Linked DNA regions of Homo sapiens: all the other regions are linked to region 3. The links are contacts of gene promoters, found by promoter capture Hi-C in blood cells and fetal thymus (Javierre and others, 2016). All regions are on one chromosome and are shown on one strand. The core of a region is centred on a gene start or on the middle of the fragment in contact, and the rest is flanking DNA. Distances in the headings are between cores, read along the strand shown.

Region 1 (4,265 bases), core at 180-2,679, 320 kb after region 3:
CACCTCTGCACTTTGGTCTTCACTGGCCTCTTTCCAGACGTCGATATGTCCACACCTCTACAGCCCTTCCCCGACCCTCAAATCTAGCCTGTCTTCTGAGCCCAGCCCTGGGGCTCCCTCGTCTATGAAGCCCTCCCAGATGTCCTCACTCCATGCCAGGCCCCACAACAGGAGCCAGCAGTATACCAGGCTAGACTCACCCTCCCTCAGGCCCTCAGTCTAATGAGAAAGATGGACTTCCAACAACAATCACAGGGGGACCTGGCAGAGGTCACAGAGGACCCCACAGAGTAGACACAATTACTCCCATTTCAGAAAAATGGAGGCTCTGACAGCTTAAATGACTTGCCCAAAGACACAACTACCAATGACATAAAATTTAAGATTTTTTCTTAAATGATTTCCAAATCCAGAAATTTGTAACAGACTCTGGACAACCAAGTTATCAGTGCCATTTGCCACAGTGTAGGCAGGGATCTTGCCAGGCAGATCCTAGAGTCACCACTGAAATGTGGATGATGATGACTGTGCCCTCTGAGAGGCCTCTTCTCCCATCACTGCACTTGCTGTGCTCCAGTTACTCCAGTTGCTCTGGGCTCCCCAGGTAAACCCTACTTCCCTTCCCATACCTCCTACTTTCCCCCATGCTATTCCCTGAGGCCCCAAATTTGCAAATTCCTATTTCTCCTTTAGATCTCAGCTAAAATGGCTTCAGGGAAGCCTTTCCTAAAGCTCCATGCTCCCTCAAGCTTTGCTTTCGTAGTATTTACCATAATTCATAAATATTTGTGAAATATCTGCTCAGGCCTGTCTTCCCTGAAGACTATAAATTCCATGAGCCCAGGGGATGTGTAGGTCTTGTCATCCCCATCTCCTCAATGCCTAGCAGGCTGGCATCCATTAGGTGCTTATTCAAATAATATTTTTAAATAAATGAATTAAAGAATGGGGAATATATGAGTGATGAGAAAGAGAAAGAATGACAAAGGGGAGAAAAAGGATATGAATGGAAGCCATCCAAAGGGCATAGATGGAAGCAACAGAGAAGACCAGCAGAGAAAAAAGGAAAGGCGTTTCAATACCTTAGCCAGAGCAGGAATGAGTAAAATTGAGAAAGAAAAGTCGCAGTTTCCATAAGCAGAAATAGTGCTCATATATTTGATAAAAAGTTAATAAGCTATTAGTCCCATTAATAAAGAAAAATATGTACATTATGTAAGTTAAGAATGATAGCTATCCAATCTTCAGGAATTCATTCATTCAACAAGTACTTATTGAGCACCTACTAATTGCCAGGCTGTGATCTAGGAGCTGGAGATGCAGCAGTAAACACACACACAAAATAAAATTCCTGTGGTCATGAAGCTCCCATTCTAAGAAGGGGAGACAAAGGAATACTGTATATCCTTGTTCATATAACTGAACATTCTTGTTTATAAACTTTTTGTTGATGAATAAAATTAACCTCAAGTGGTCTGAATTATTTCCCTTAGCCCCACTCATTGAAAAACATTAAGCTAATGTTTAAAGATGAGTGGAGGGGATGCTCTATAAATGAATCTACAAGGATCTTTGGGAAAATAAATTTTAAAGATTCTTCCATGGTAAAGAGAAAAGGCACCCTTGGATTATAAGAAGTTAGCATTCCCTCACTTGTTATTAGTGGTGTAAATTTTAAAAAATTAGGTGAAAAAAGATTTTAAATCTTCACATGACATAATGCAAAGCTACGCTTTTACTATTTATGTATCTATTTAACTTTTTTTTGAGACAGAGTCTCACTCTGTCATCGAGGCTGGAGTGTAGTGGTGTGATCTCAGCCCACTGCAACCTCTGCCTCCTGGGTTCAGCGATTCTCCTGTCTCAGCCTCCCGAGTAGCTGAGATTACAGGTGCCGGCCACCACACCTGGCTAATTTTTGTAGTTTTAGTAGATACAGGATTTTGCCATGTTGGCCAGGCTGGTCTCAAACTCCTGACCTCAGGTGATCCGCCACCTCGGCCTTCCAAAGTACTGAGATTGCAGGTGTGAGCCACTGCACCCAGCCTATTTTTTTTTTTTTAAGGAATCTGTGAAATAAATATTCTAAAAGCTGTGGCAACAAGCTTGTAAATCTCAGCTATTTTTACAAGTCTGAGTGGAAATGGACAAGCATCTGCAAAAATCCAAGATGCCCAGTCTGCCAGCCACTAGGCCCCTCTGTGAGAGAGGGCAGGGGGTTCCTCATTTACAAAGCATACCACCACCACTTCATACCTTATCTGGGAGGCAGGTGGCATGATTGCATTCCCATTTTACAGATGAGAAAACTCAGAGAGGGAAGGTGACCTGCCCAAGGCTCTAGGGGGAGTTAGTAGAACTCTGGGCAGTCCCAGACAAGGAGCCTCCTGGCTGCACCTAGCTGCCTTCTTCAAAGGCACATATGTCTGACAGAGCCACAGAAAAAACAAGGTCAAACATTGAAAAAGGTGCACGGCCTTGATGGAATCCCTAAATAATTCTTCAACTTTTAAAGAATAAATCAATAGGCTGGGCGCGGTGGCTCACGCCTGTAATCCCAGCACTTTAGGAGGCGGACACGGGCGCATCACTTGAGGTCAGGAGTTTGAGGCCAGCCTGGCCAACATGGCAAAACCCTGTCGCTACTAAAAATACAAAAATTAGCTGGGCGTGTAATCCCAGCTACTCAGGAGGCTGAGGCAGAAGAATCGCTTGAACCTAGGAGGCAGAGGTTGCAGTGAGCCAAGATCCAGCCATTGCACTCCAGCCTGGGTGACAAGAGCAAAACTCCATCTCAAAAAAAAAAAAAAAAAAAAAGGCGGGTCGCGGTGGCTCATGCCTGTAATCTCAGCACTTTGGGAGGCTGAGGTGGGTGGATCACGAGGTCAGGAAATCGAGACCATCCTGGCTAACACGGTGAAACCCCGTCTCTACTAAAAATACAAAAAATTAGCCGGGCATGGTGGCGGGCGCCTGTAGTCCCAGCTACTTGGGAGGCTGAGGCAGGAGAATGGCGTGAACCCGGAAGGTGGAGCTTGCAGTGAGCCGAGATTGCGCCACTGCACTCCAGCCTGGGCGACAGAGCGGGACTCCATCTCAAAAAAAAAAAAAAAAGAAAAGAAAAAAAAATCATCCAGTCTGGCCAACATGGTAAAGCCCTGTCTCTACTAAAAATACAAAAAAATTAGCCAGGCATGGTGGCAGGCGCCTGTAATCTCAGCTACTCAGGAGGCTGACACAGGCGAATCATTTGAACCCGGACGGAGGTTTCAGTGAGCTGAGATCGCACCACTGCACTCCAGCCTGGGTGACAGAGCAGGACTCCATCTCAAAAAAAAAAAGAAAAGAATAAATCAATAATTCGTACAAAAATATTTTAAAAGACAAAAATGAGATAAAAAGAAAAAAAAACCCTATGGCCAAAATCTCACTTGTGAATATATAGGCAAAAACCTGACATGAAATCTTAGCTAACCAAATTCACAGTCATATTATCTCTAAAATGAAAGGTGCAGACAACAGGAGAGAAGTCAATCACTGGCTTCATAACATGGAAAATATAGATCTACAGTTCAAGTTTAATTTTCCCAATACATGTCAACATACCATGAAGTAGCCCGTAGCATCTATTCTTTATTAAAACTACAGACAAAACAAAACCCCACAATGAAGAGAGACTATTTTAAATAATGATCCAACTCTGACTTCATTGAGATACACTGAAGTTCAGCCCTGTCATTTTCCAAATGGAGAAACTAGAGAAACAAGGCTCAGAGAGATTAAGTAGCTTGCTTTGCCTAAGGTTACTCAGCTGGTCTATGGCAGAGCCAGGTCTCAAACCCATGTCTTCTGATTCCAAGTCTGAAGCTTTCTGTCATCATTCCCATTTTATATATGATGAGAAATGCTAGCAATAGCTATCAGAAAAAAAGAAACAAAAAAGCATAATACATAGAAGATGAAGAAATAAAATATTACACTGCAGATAACGTATTTGCCCACCTGGAAAATCTTAAGGGGGTGGGTGTGGTTACTAGAGGAAATCAATGAATTTTAGAATGCAAGCCAGCATCTCAGCTCAAAAACACAGGGAAAAGTTTTCACTCACAATAGTAGTGAAAGCATTAAGCTATTACATTCTTGGATGTACTTGGGCCACAGTAATACTTATTCAAATAAAACAATAAAAAAATAATAAAACCAGCTGGGCGCGGTGGCTCACGCCTGGAATCCCAACACTTTGGGAGGCAGAGGTAGGCAGATCA
Region 2 (4,395 bases), core at 160-2,659, 470 kb after region 3:
CCTCGTGATCCGCCAGCCTGGGCCTCCCAAAGTGCTGGGATTACAGGCGTGAGCCTCCGCGCCCAGCCCCAAGGCAGTCTTCTTAAAAGGAAGAGGATGCATCTTTCTTCCCTTTTTCCTTCCCACTGTTTGGAATATGGACCATAGTGAGGTGACCTTAACACTGGAAGCCAAATACTGAGGATGGCTGAACAGCCCTGAACTGCCTACTTTTGGACTTATATTTCATGGAAAGAGAGAAATTTCTGGCTAGGTGCAGCGGCTCATGCCTGTAATCCCAGCACTTTGAGAGGCCAAGGCAGGAGGATCGCTTGAGCCCAGGAGCTCGAGACCAGCCTGAGCAACACAGGGAGATTTCATCTCCATGAAAAAAATAAAAATAATAGGCAGGCCTGGTGGCGCACCTGTGCTCCCAGCTACTCCAGAGGTTGGGGTGGGAGGATCGCTTAAGCTTGGGAGGTTGAGGCTTCAGTGAGCTGTGATCACGCCACTGCACTCCAACCTGGGTGACAGAGCAAAACCGTCTCAGGAAAAAAAATAAATAAATTTCAATCGTAAGCTATTTTTTTCTTTTGTTATTTGCAATTGAATGTAATCCTGATACATTCCTGTTGTTGAAGCTGTTTGCCTGCCTCCCACTAGGAAGCCTAAGGGTCCAGATCCTCCCCCAGTCAGAGGAATGGGGAACTAGAAAAAGAAAGGCAAAGGCACTGCCAGGCAAGAAAACGCTGGGTCTCCTTCCACAAGTTTGGTAAGTAAGCAAGATACCAGGAGGATAGAATGGTAAGTGAGCCTAGAAATAGACTATTATATACATAGGGTTTATTAAATACATAGAGAACACTGAATGCTAGACTAAGAAATTTGGACTTTATTCTGGAAGTCCCTTGCAATAGGGGACCTTGTCTGTTTTATTTTCTAATGCCTCGCACTTTGTAGAAGCTCAGTGAATGAATATATTCTTTATTAATTTATGCCGTCTGCTTAATAAACAGAAATGTTGGAAGGTGAACCAGTTGGGAGTCACCATCTGATCAACCCCTGCCTGCTTTTTATAAATAATGTAACTGAACCATCATTTACTGGAAGTGGCAATCAACCTGTGAGGAACGGCAAACCAAAAAGTCCACCTTGGGTGTCATGGTGATGGAATTGGAGGCGGAGACCAGGGAGAGCAGCGGGCTAGGATCTCTGAGAGTCTCCGCAACATGGCGGCCCTGGAACCACCTGACCGGCAGGAGGCGGAGCTCCGCCCCAGCTCGCTCGGCCCCACCCCGCTCGGCCCTGCCCAGCGCACTCCTAGACCGGGGCGCAAGGGTTGTGAGGTGTTTGAGCGAAGCGCCTGCGCAGGGCAGCGGCGCGCGGGGCGGAGGCTTTATAATCACTTCGTCGTTGCCGCTCGGCTTCTATCGCCGGGAGGGCGGTTGAGGCGGTGGTGGCGGCGTCGGCGGCGGCCGGGCGCTGGCTGAGGGGCGCTGAGGCGGGAGCTGTGGCGGCGCTGGGCGCCCCTGGCTCCTCGGCCTCTGCCGGCCATGGGCTCCGAGAAGGACTCCGAGTCGCCGCGCTCCACATCGCTACATGCGGCCGCACCCGACCCTAAGTGCCGCAGCGGCGGCCGGCGCCGGCGCCTCACCTTGCACAGCGTCTTCTCTGCCTCGGCCCGCGGCCGCCGCGCCCGGGCCAAGCCGCAGGCCGAGCCGCCGCCCCCGGCTGCGCAGCCGCCGCCCGCCCCGGCCCCTGCCGCGGCCCAGGGCCCGCCGCCCGAGGCGCTGCCCGCCGAGCCGGCCGCCGAGGCCGAGGCGGAGGCCGCGGCGGCGGCGGCGGAGCCTGGGTTCGACGATGAGGAGGCGGCGGAGGGCGGTGGCCCGGGCGCGGAGGAGGTGGAGTGTCCGCTGTGCCTGGTGCGGCTGCCGCCTGAGCGGGCCCCGCGCCTCCTCAGCTGTCCGCACCGCTCGTGCCGGGACTGCCTCCGCCACTACCTGCGCCTGGAGATAAGCGAGAGCAGGGTGCCCATCAGCTGCCCCGAGTGCAGCGAGCGACTCAACCCGCACGACATCCGCTTGCTGCTCGCCGACCCGCCGCTTATGCACAAGTACGAGGAGTTCATGCTGCGCCGCTACCTAGCCTCGGACCCCGACTGCCGCTGGTGCCCGGCCCCGGACTGCGGGTGAGCGCGGGGGCGTGGCGCGGGTGGCGGCGGGCTGCAGCCGAGGGGCGTGGCTGGGGGCAGCAGGGACCCCGCGTGGGTGTCCCAAGCAGGGAAACCCGCAAGGCGGCAGCTTCGGCGGGGTGGTAACCATCAGGCAAGCCCAGACTAGTGGTGTGAACGCACCCGACACCCCGCCCCCTGCCCCAGGGCTCGAGGTGGCTGCTAAGCATTCGGTGAGGGGAAGGGAGCTGTCCAAGTTAGGAGACAGGGAGAGGCGGTTTTTTTGTTGGGGGAATGCCCTCTGTCCGGAGGTGAGGACAGTATCTTTTTTTTTTTTTCTTTTTTTTTTTGGAGACGGAGTCTCGCCCTGCCGCCCAGGCTGGAGTGCAATGGCGCGATCTCGGCTCACTGCAACCTCCGCCTCTCAGGTTCAAGCGATTCTCCTGCCTCAGCCTCCCGAGTAGCTGGGATTACAGGCGCCCGCCACCACACCCGGCTAATTTCTTTGTATTTTTAGTAGAGATGGGGTTTCACCATGTTGGCTAGGCTGGTCTCGAACTCCTGACCTCAGGTGATCCTCCTGCCTCGGCCTCCCAAAGTGCTGGGATTACAGGCGTGAGCCACCGCTCCCGGCCAAGGTGGGGAGTATCTCTTAATGAGAGTGGGGAGGGGATATTTGGCCAAGGAGGGAATGAGAATATTCTGAGGGGGCAGCGCGTCGGAGGGGTGTGTCCACTTGGCTAGGGACAGACTTAGCATTGCAGAAGAAGGCGTGTTCTCCCTGACAACCACCGCTGAAAGTTGGGATGGAGGTGACTGGGGAATAGGCTCTCGGGTACCCTGAGCACTATGTGTTCTGTGCCACGCTATCGGGAGGCACTCTGTCGTTCTTACCTTGCTGCCTTGGGTAGGGTGAGGGGTAGACAGATATGTTCTTTGTCCAGAGTCTCAATGGGGGCACTGAGAAGAATGCCCAGAGGTTGGTGTGATAGGAGAAATTGTGTTTCTGAACCCCTTTGATCTTGAGTTCTTGATGACAGTCTTTTTAATGCACCATGTAGGCTGAATTTTAAAGGGCAGTAAATTAAAATATGCAATATCTGCAGAGACATAATACACCAGATTTTGCTATCTGAAGCATTCAGTGGAGACCTTCCTCGCCCTCCCCGCCTTTAGAAGTCTAATTGTTACTGTCAGTATATCCCATGAAGGGGTTGCACGCAGGAAGAGGGGCTCATTTAAGTAGTTGGGAGTCAGACAGCCATTACCTGTTCTGTGACCTTGGGCAGATAATTTTATTCTTGTGTGTCATGTTTTGGCGACAAAAAGATGCTGGGGAGTCCTTGCAGTGTGTAAACGTAATGCTAGTAAAAAGTTGTGTGATCTTTAGCTTCAAAGGAGTTAAGGACTTTTAATTGTAGCCTATATATCAAGGTGGTTTTGAAATCTCCATGATGCTGCTGGTTGTCTCCTTTCAAAAGGAGCTGTCTTAGAGTGTCTAGGAGAGTAAGAAGAGTTAACTTCTGTTTTTAATTCTGCCAAACTTGTTTAGAAATGGGTGTGCTATTTAACCTCACTGAGATGGGGTTTCTAAATTACTTTGAAGTGTTGTGGTCAAAGGAATGGTGTTTATGGTGGCTCACTTTCACTTTCAGTTAATAAGTATCAGGAAGGACCTTTTAGGTTCATGGAACTGTCTATGTCTAGTGATCTTACTGGCCCTCTGAGGTTAATTTATATTAAAGTTTTACAGATACTGTTGATCTGTTTTCTTAACCAAACGAATATTAAGAGAACACAGGCCAGGCTCGGTGGCTCACGCCTATAGTCCTAGCATTCTGGGAGACCAAGGTGGGTGGATCACCTGAGGTCGGGAGCTCAAGACCAGCCTGGCCAACATAGTGGTATCCTGTCTCTGCTAAAAATAGAAAAATTAGCCGGGCATGGTGGTGCACACCTGTAGTCCCAGCTACCCAGGAGGCTGAGGCAGAATCGCTTGAACCTGTGAGGCAGAGGTGCAGTGAGCCGAGATCAGGCCACTATACTCCAGCCTGGGTGACAGAGCGAGATTCTGTCTCAAGAAAAAAAAAAAACAAAACACTGCATAGTTAATTTTGGAATAGTACATTAACTCCTTTCTGAGATGTTTCCTTGAGTTCTAAGAAATGTGGCAGATCATCTTTCTGGAAAAGGTCCCTGTTTGTTTTTTTATTTTTCTAAAGTCAGTTTCTGTCTTTGCTCACATC
Region 3 (4,627 bases), core at 731-3,230:
GTATATTCAAAATTACCTTTGATGATCCCTTTAAATGTCTATAAAGTTTAGCACATTTAGTTTGAGGCACAGAGCCCTGTCCAGTAATCCATAAATATATTAAAGTTAGAGAACCATGGCCAGATGTGGTAGCTTACACCTGTGAATCCCAGAGTTTTGGGAAGCCCAAGTAGGAAGATTGCTTGAGGCCAGAAGTTCGAGACAAACCTGGGCAACATAACAATTACCCGGGTGTTGGGGTGCATGCCTGTAGTCACAGCTACTCCTCGGGAGGCTGAGGCAGGAGGATCACTTGAACCCAGGAGTTCAATGTTATAGTGAGCTATGATCACACCACTGCACTCCAGCCTGGATGACAGAGCATAATTCTGTCTCTAAAAAATAAATAAATAAATAAAATTAGAGAATCACTGAGCTAAACAAGTCTGTACACAGATGTTTGTGTTTTTAAACTACTGTGCCTTTAGCTAAACTATCAAATCCCTAAGGTAAAAATGGAAAGACAGGCATAAGCCGGACGCGGTGGCTTATGCCTGTAATCCCAGCACTTTGGGAGGCCAAGGCGGGCAGATCACCTGAGGTCAGGAGTTCGAGACCAGCCTGGCCAACAAGGCGAAACCCTGTCTCTACTAAAAGTACAAAAATTAGCCGGGTGTGGTGGCAGATGCCTGTAATCCCAGCTACTCAGGAGGCTGAGTCAGGAGAATAGCTTGAATCCAGCAGGCAGAGGTTGCAGTGAGCCAAGATCGCACCATTGCACTCCAGTCTGGGTGACAAGAGCGAGATCGGACTCAAAAAAAACAAAAAACAAAAAACAGACAAACAAAAAAAAACAAAAAACAAAGGAAAGACAGAGAATTCTACAGTGCCCCTTACCTACCTGGTGACTCTATTCTCTTAATATATAGCCTCTGTGACCTTAACACATGTCACTTGTCACAAGGTATATTTGCTGTGGGATTAAGACGTAACACCATCATATCTTGAGAGGAGACAAAATTCTATTAGAGAAGGGATTCTAAGTCCAATCCTAAATTAAATAAATCTGATACAATGAGACTAGCTTTGGGGGCCAGATAAACCTGGATTTGAACCCTAAATCTGCTACTTACTAGCTGTATAACGTTGGGCAATTTGCTTAACTTCCCAAAGTCTCGGTTTCTTAATCCATAGAATGGTCACAGTAATTCCACCATGTTGAGAAGACTGAATTTAAAAGTTTCTAAAGTAATGAGCTTCAGTATAAATCAGTGTAACTCAGCATTAGCTCTTAATAGCTGTTTGACCTAAATTATGTCACATGGCCTCTCTGAGCCTCATTTTCTCTCCTTTGTAATACAGGCATAACTATTCTGCCTATTAATCTCAAAGGTCACTGTAAGGAAACAGTAAAACGCTGTACAAATTATGTACAAGGATTTTCTCAACTGCACAGCACACCTGAAATTGTGAGGAGGTGCTAGGAGACCCCTGCTGGATTTGAAAAAACTGGCGATTGTCCCGGGTCTGAAGTCAAAAATGATCTTAGATCTCCACTTTTGCCATTTAATGTTGTTGTATGATCTTGAGCGAATGATCTAACCTCTCTGAGCCTCCACTTTCCCTACTATCTAGTGGGGTTAATAGGACAGACATCACTTTCTGCAGCAAAGTGTTAAGGCACGTGGTAAGTGCTCAATAAATGTTGGCTGAATCTGGATCTCTCTGGCTGAGACAAATCTCTCCATCCGCAAGGTGGGAAAACTGCGCGTGGTCGCCATGTGGCGCTCAGGTAGAGGAGATGCTCCCGGGGGCACCGGGCTCCGGCACCTCCCCACTCCCCCGCCCACCCGCCCGTTGCCATGGCCACCGGTTCAGGCTGGGAGCAGCACTAAGGCGTGTTCCGCCCAATCCCCGCCCTTCTAGGGTGACCATTGGCTGGAGCGGCCACGTGACGCGCGCTGGTATGCTAATATATGGTAATAGCGCCCTCGCCCCTCCTCCGCGGGCAGCGTCCGAGCAGCCAGCAGGGTGCGCGGCGCCGAGCCGAGGGGGCGGGCTGAGGGGCGGCCCCCGGGAGAGAGCGGCCAGGTGGAGGAGGAGCGCGGAGGCGACCGCAGGTAACGGGCGGGCGCGTGCGCGCTGGGGCCAGCTCGCGGCTGACGGGCAGCGCGCGGGGGACACCGGCCGCCGCGCTGCCGGCTTAACCCTTTGGGCACCCAGCTGTCACGGTCGGGCCGGAGCGCTCGGCCGGGACGGGCCGCGCGGGGCGGGGCATTGCCATGGGCACGGACAGGCGGGCGGCAGGCGGCCTGACCCCTGGTCCGCGGCGTGGGGCCCGCGCTGGGAGCCCGCAGTCCCGGCCGGCGACCGGCAGAGCGCGGCGCCCCCGGGCCGGGAACGCGCAGCGAGGAGGGCTGCGGAGAGCCTGGGGCCGAGGCTTGCCGGGAACGGGAACCGGAACGGGAACGGGCCAAGGTCCCGTCAGTGACTCGCTTTCTCCGGGGACCGACCCCCCTCCTGCGGAGAGGCCCGCGCCGCGGCAGCCCGTGGTCTTGCGCGGCCTGCGCCTGCTCCGCTTGTCCCGCAGAGTGCGGTGAGACCCGGGCGTCGGGCCTGACCGGGGCGCCCGCTCCCCAGCCGCGGCGTGACAGCGCAGCCGCTGGCACTTTCGGCCCAGAGTCAAGCGTGGCGTGGGGGGCACCAGCAGAGGGAACCGGGGGTTGCTGGAACTGGGAGGAGAGAACAGTCGTCTAAAGGAAAAGCGGGCCCCAAGGTTGGAGAAGGAGGGATGCCCTAGAAAGGCGCTGGTCCCTTGTTTTCTGTGCTGAGTGATGACCTGACACCCATGGGAAAAGGTCGCTGCTGGACACCTGGATCGGGTCTGTCATACACGGAGGAAGCGGCTGTTCTACGTGAGTGTCTAACAAATTTCTTATAAGGCGAGGTTTAAATTCATCTTCCCCCCTCCCCAGGTCTGCTACAGAAGTGTCTTCTTGTAATTATCCCCCTCCCCCAATTCACTAAGACTGGTGGCAGCTTTAGGCTCACAGTGTAATTTAGCTTTTGCGACAATAGAAATGGTAGGAGGAGAGATGCGCCACTGATACTAAGCTTGCCCTGGGAGTTTCTTGGAAGTGTGGGGTAAAAAATATTTCTATCACCAGTGGGGATGAAAAATCGGCTAATGCGCCCGTGATATCAATAGAGTTTCTTTTGTGAGTCTAAAGTCGTTCCTTCTAAATCAAGAGAAAATGCGGTTACAATTGAAAAGTACCAGAAACCAATTTGATTTTGCAAGTGAAGTGCAAATTCCACTTCCACGTTGCTCTTGATGTCTTTTATCACCCAACAACAAATACTTGGCATATGCCAGGCACTCTGCTATGTCTTGGGGATGCAAAGATGAATAAGATAATTAGTCCTTGTCCTGAAAGAAGTGGTAGGAGAAACAAATGAAATTGCTAGTAAAAGTGATTAACAGCATAATAGATGTGAATGCAAAGGGCTTTGGAAGCACAGAGGAGGGAACAATTAGCTGTCTGAGAGGACCAGGGAAGGCTTTCCAGAGAACACATTTAAGCAAGGTGTTGAAGGATAAATAGGAGTTTACCTTGCAGAGAAAATTGGAAAGGACTGAAAAGGCAGCCAAAGCGGGGGAACAGCGAATGCAGCCACATAAAGAATATGTTATCTCTAGGGAATGGCTTTCTATTGTAACTATGGCTTTTTTTCCTTCCTCTGTAATGTAACTTTCTAAAAGTAGCCTAGAATTTCTTATTCCCAGCACAGTTGTCCAGTGATATTTTTCTTATTGTTTTCTCCCCCATATTTTCCCCTCATCAGTTTTTCTGAGCCTCATTCCTGGTCTTTGTCACCCATATCTTCCCAAGTAAGGGTCCATCATGTGGAGGTTGAATAGGAGTAGTTTTCAGTTGCTCCAAGGGAGAGGGCCTGAAACTGGGCATAATGTTTGGCACTAGAGGCAGCATCTGAGAGGGGCAAATCTAAATCATACAAAAAGAGAATACATGACCATAACTAGGGAAGCAATGCTGAATGTCAAATTTGTGAGACCTGGGGAAATAAGTAGTAAGATCAGAAGCTGGAAGGATCTGGATTAAGAGAGGATTGGAGTGTGAGATGGGTCAGGGCAAGTAGTCCAGGATTGAGACCATGAATCGTGCACATGCAGCTGAGCCCACTGTTGCATGGTGCCAGCTGTGCAGAACAGCGGTGGATCTGCCAGACTGGGCCAGGCCCTCCATAGGCTTTCCAATGCCTCCTCCTTTCTGTTCACCCTCCCTCCTTACTATTATCCTCTTCTCTTCATCCCAGTTTCCACCCATGTCTCATGCATTGGGCTTCTTTTAATGAGGTCTTAGCTAACAGAGCAGAGAAAATCCCATTCTGCTGTCTTAGCATCTATCTCTAGAACTATAAATAGTCCATTTAACCTCATTAGCCATCAACTAGCCAGCCTATTTTTACTTCCTGATCATTTAGAAGCTGAGCAAGGTTGGGCCCAGAGTAGCAAAGTGGACCTCATCCCCAAAACTCTTCTAATATTTGAATCAGATAAAGGCCTTTTTGCTTTGCTTAGACCACATTTATTTTTAGAATGGATTATGGTGAGTTTTTGGCAAAT

What was found. Contacts are between HindIII fragments. The CHiCAGO score rates a contact against its expected background, and 5 or more counts as called.
Region 1: a contact is called between a fragment that was not itself captured here and the fragment with the promoter of PHC2 in region 3, in 1 of 17 cell types (endothelial precursors). The highest score is 6.5, in endothelial precursors.
Region 2: the fragment with the promoter of RNF19B here is called in contact with the fragment with the promoter of PHC2 in region 3 in 9 of 17 cell types (fetal thymus, naive CD4 T cells, naive B cells and 6 more); the score reaches 7.8 in fetal thymus.

What each region holds. Positions count from the first base shown.
Region 1 is chr1:33,113,205-33,117,469 of GRCh38, reverse strand. The region is part of intron 10 of AZIN2 (antizyme inhibitor 2); the gene reads right to left. Among named protein-coding and RNA genes, the nearest start is that of AZIN2, 34 kb to the right of the region's middle. The HindIII fragment of the contact is 1,356 bases long and covers 752-2,107 here.
Region 2 is chr1:32,961,823-32,966,217 of GRCh38, reverse strand. RNF19B (ring finger protein 19B) reads left to right here and starts at 1,409. Exons shown (of 9, transcript NM_001300826.2): 1 at 1,409-2,167. The coding sequence starts at 1,533. RefSeq lists silencers at 1,125-1,694, 2,055-2,264 and an enhancer at 1,310-1,814. The HindIII fragment of the contact is 3,974 bases long and covers 454-4,395 here.
Region 3 is chr1:33,428,448-33,433,074 of GRCh38, reverse strand. PHC2 (polyhomeotic homolog 2) reads left to right here and starts at 1,980. Exons shown (of 15, transcript NM_001385109.1): 1 at 1,980-2,099. RefSeq lists a silencer at 1,777-2,296. The HindIII fragment of the contact is 9,079 bases long and covers 1-3,095 here.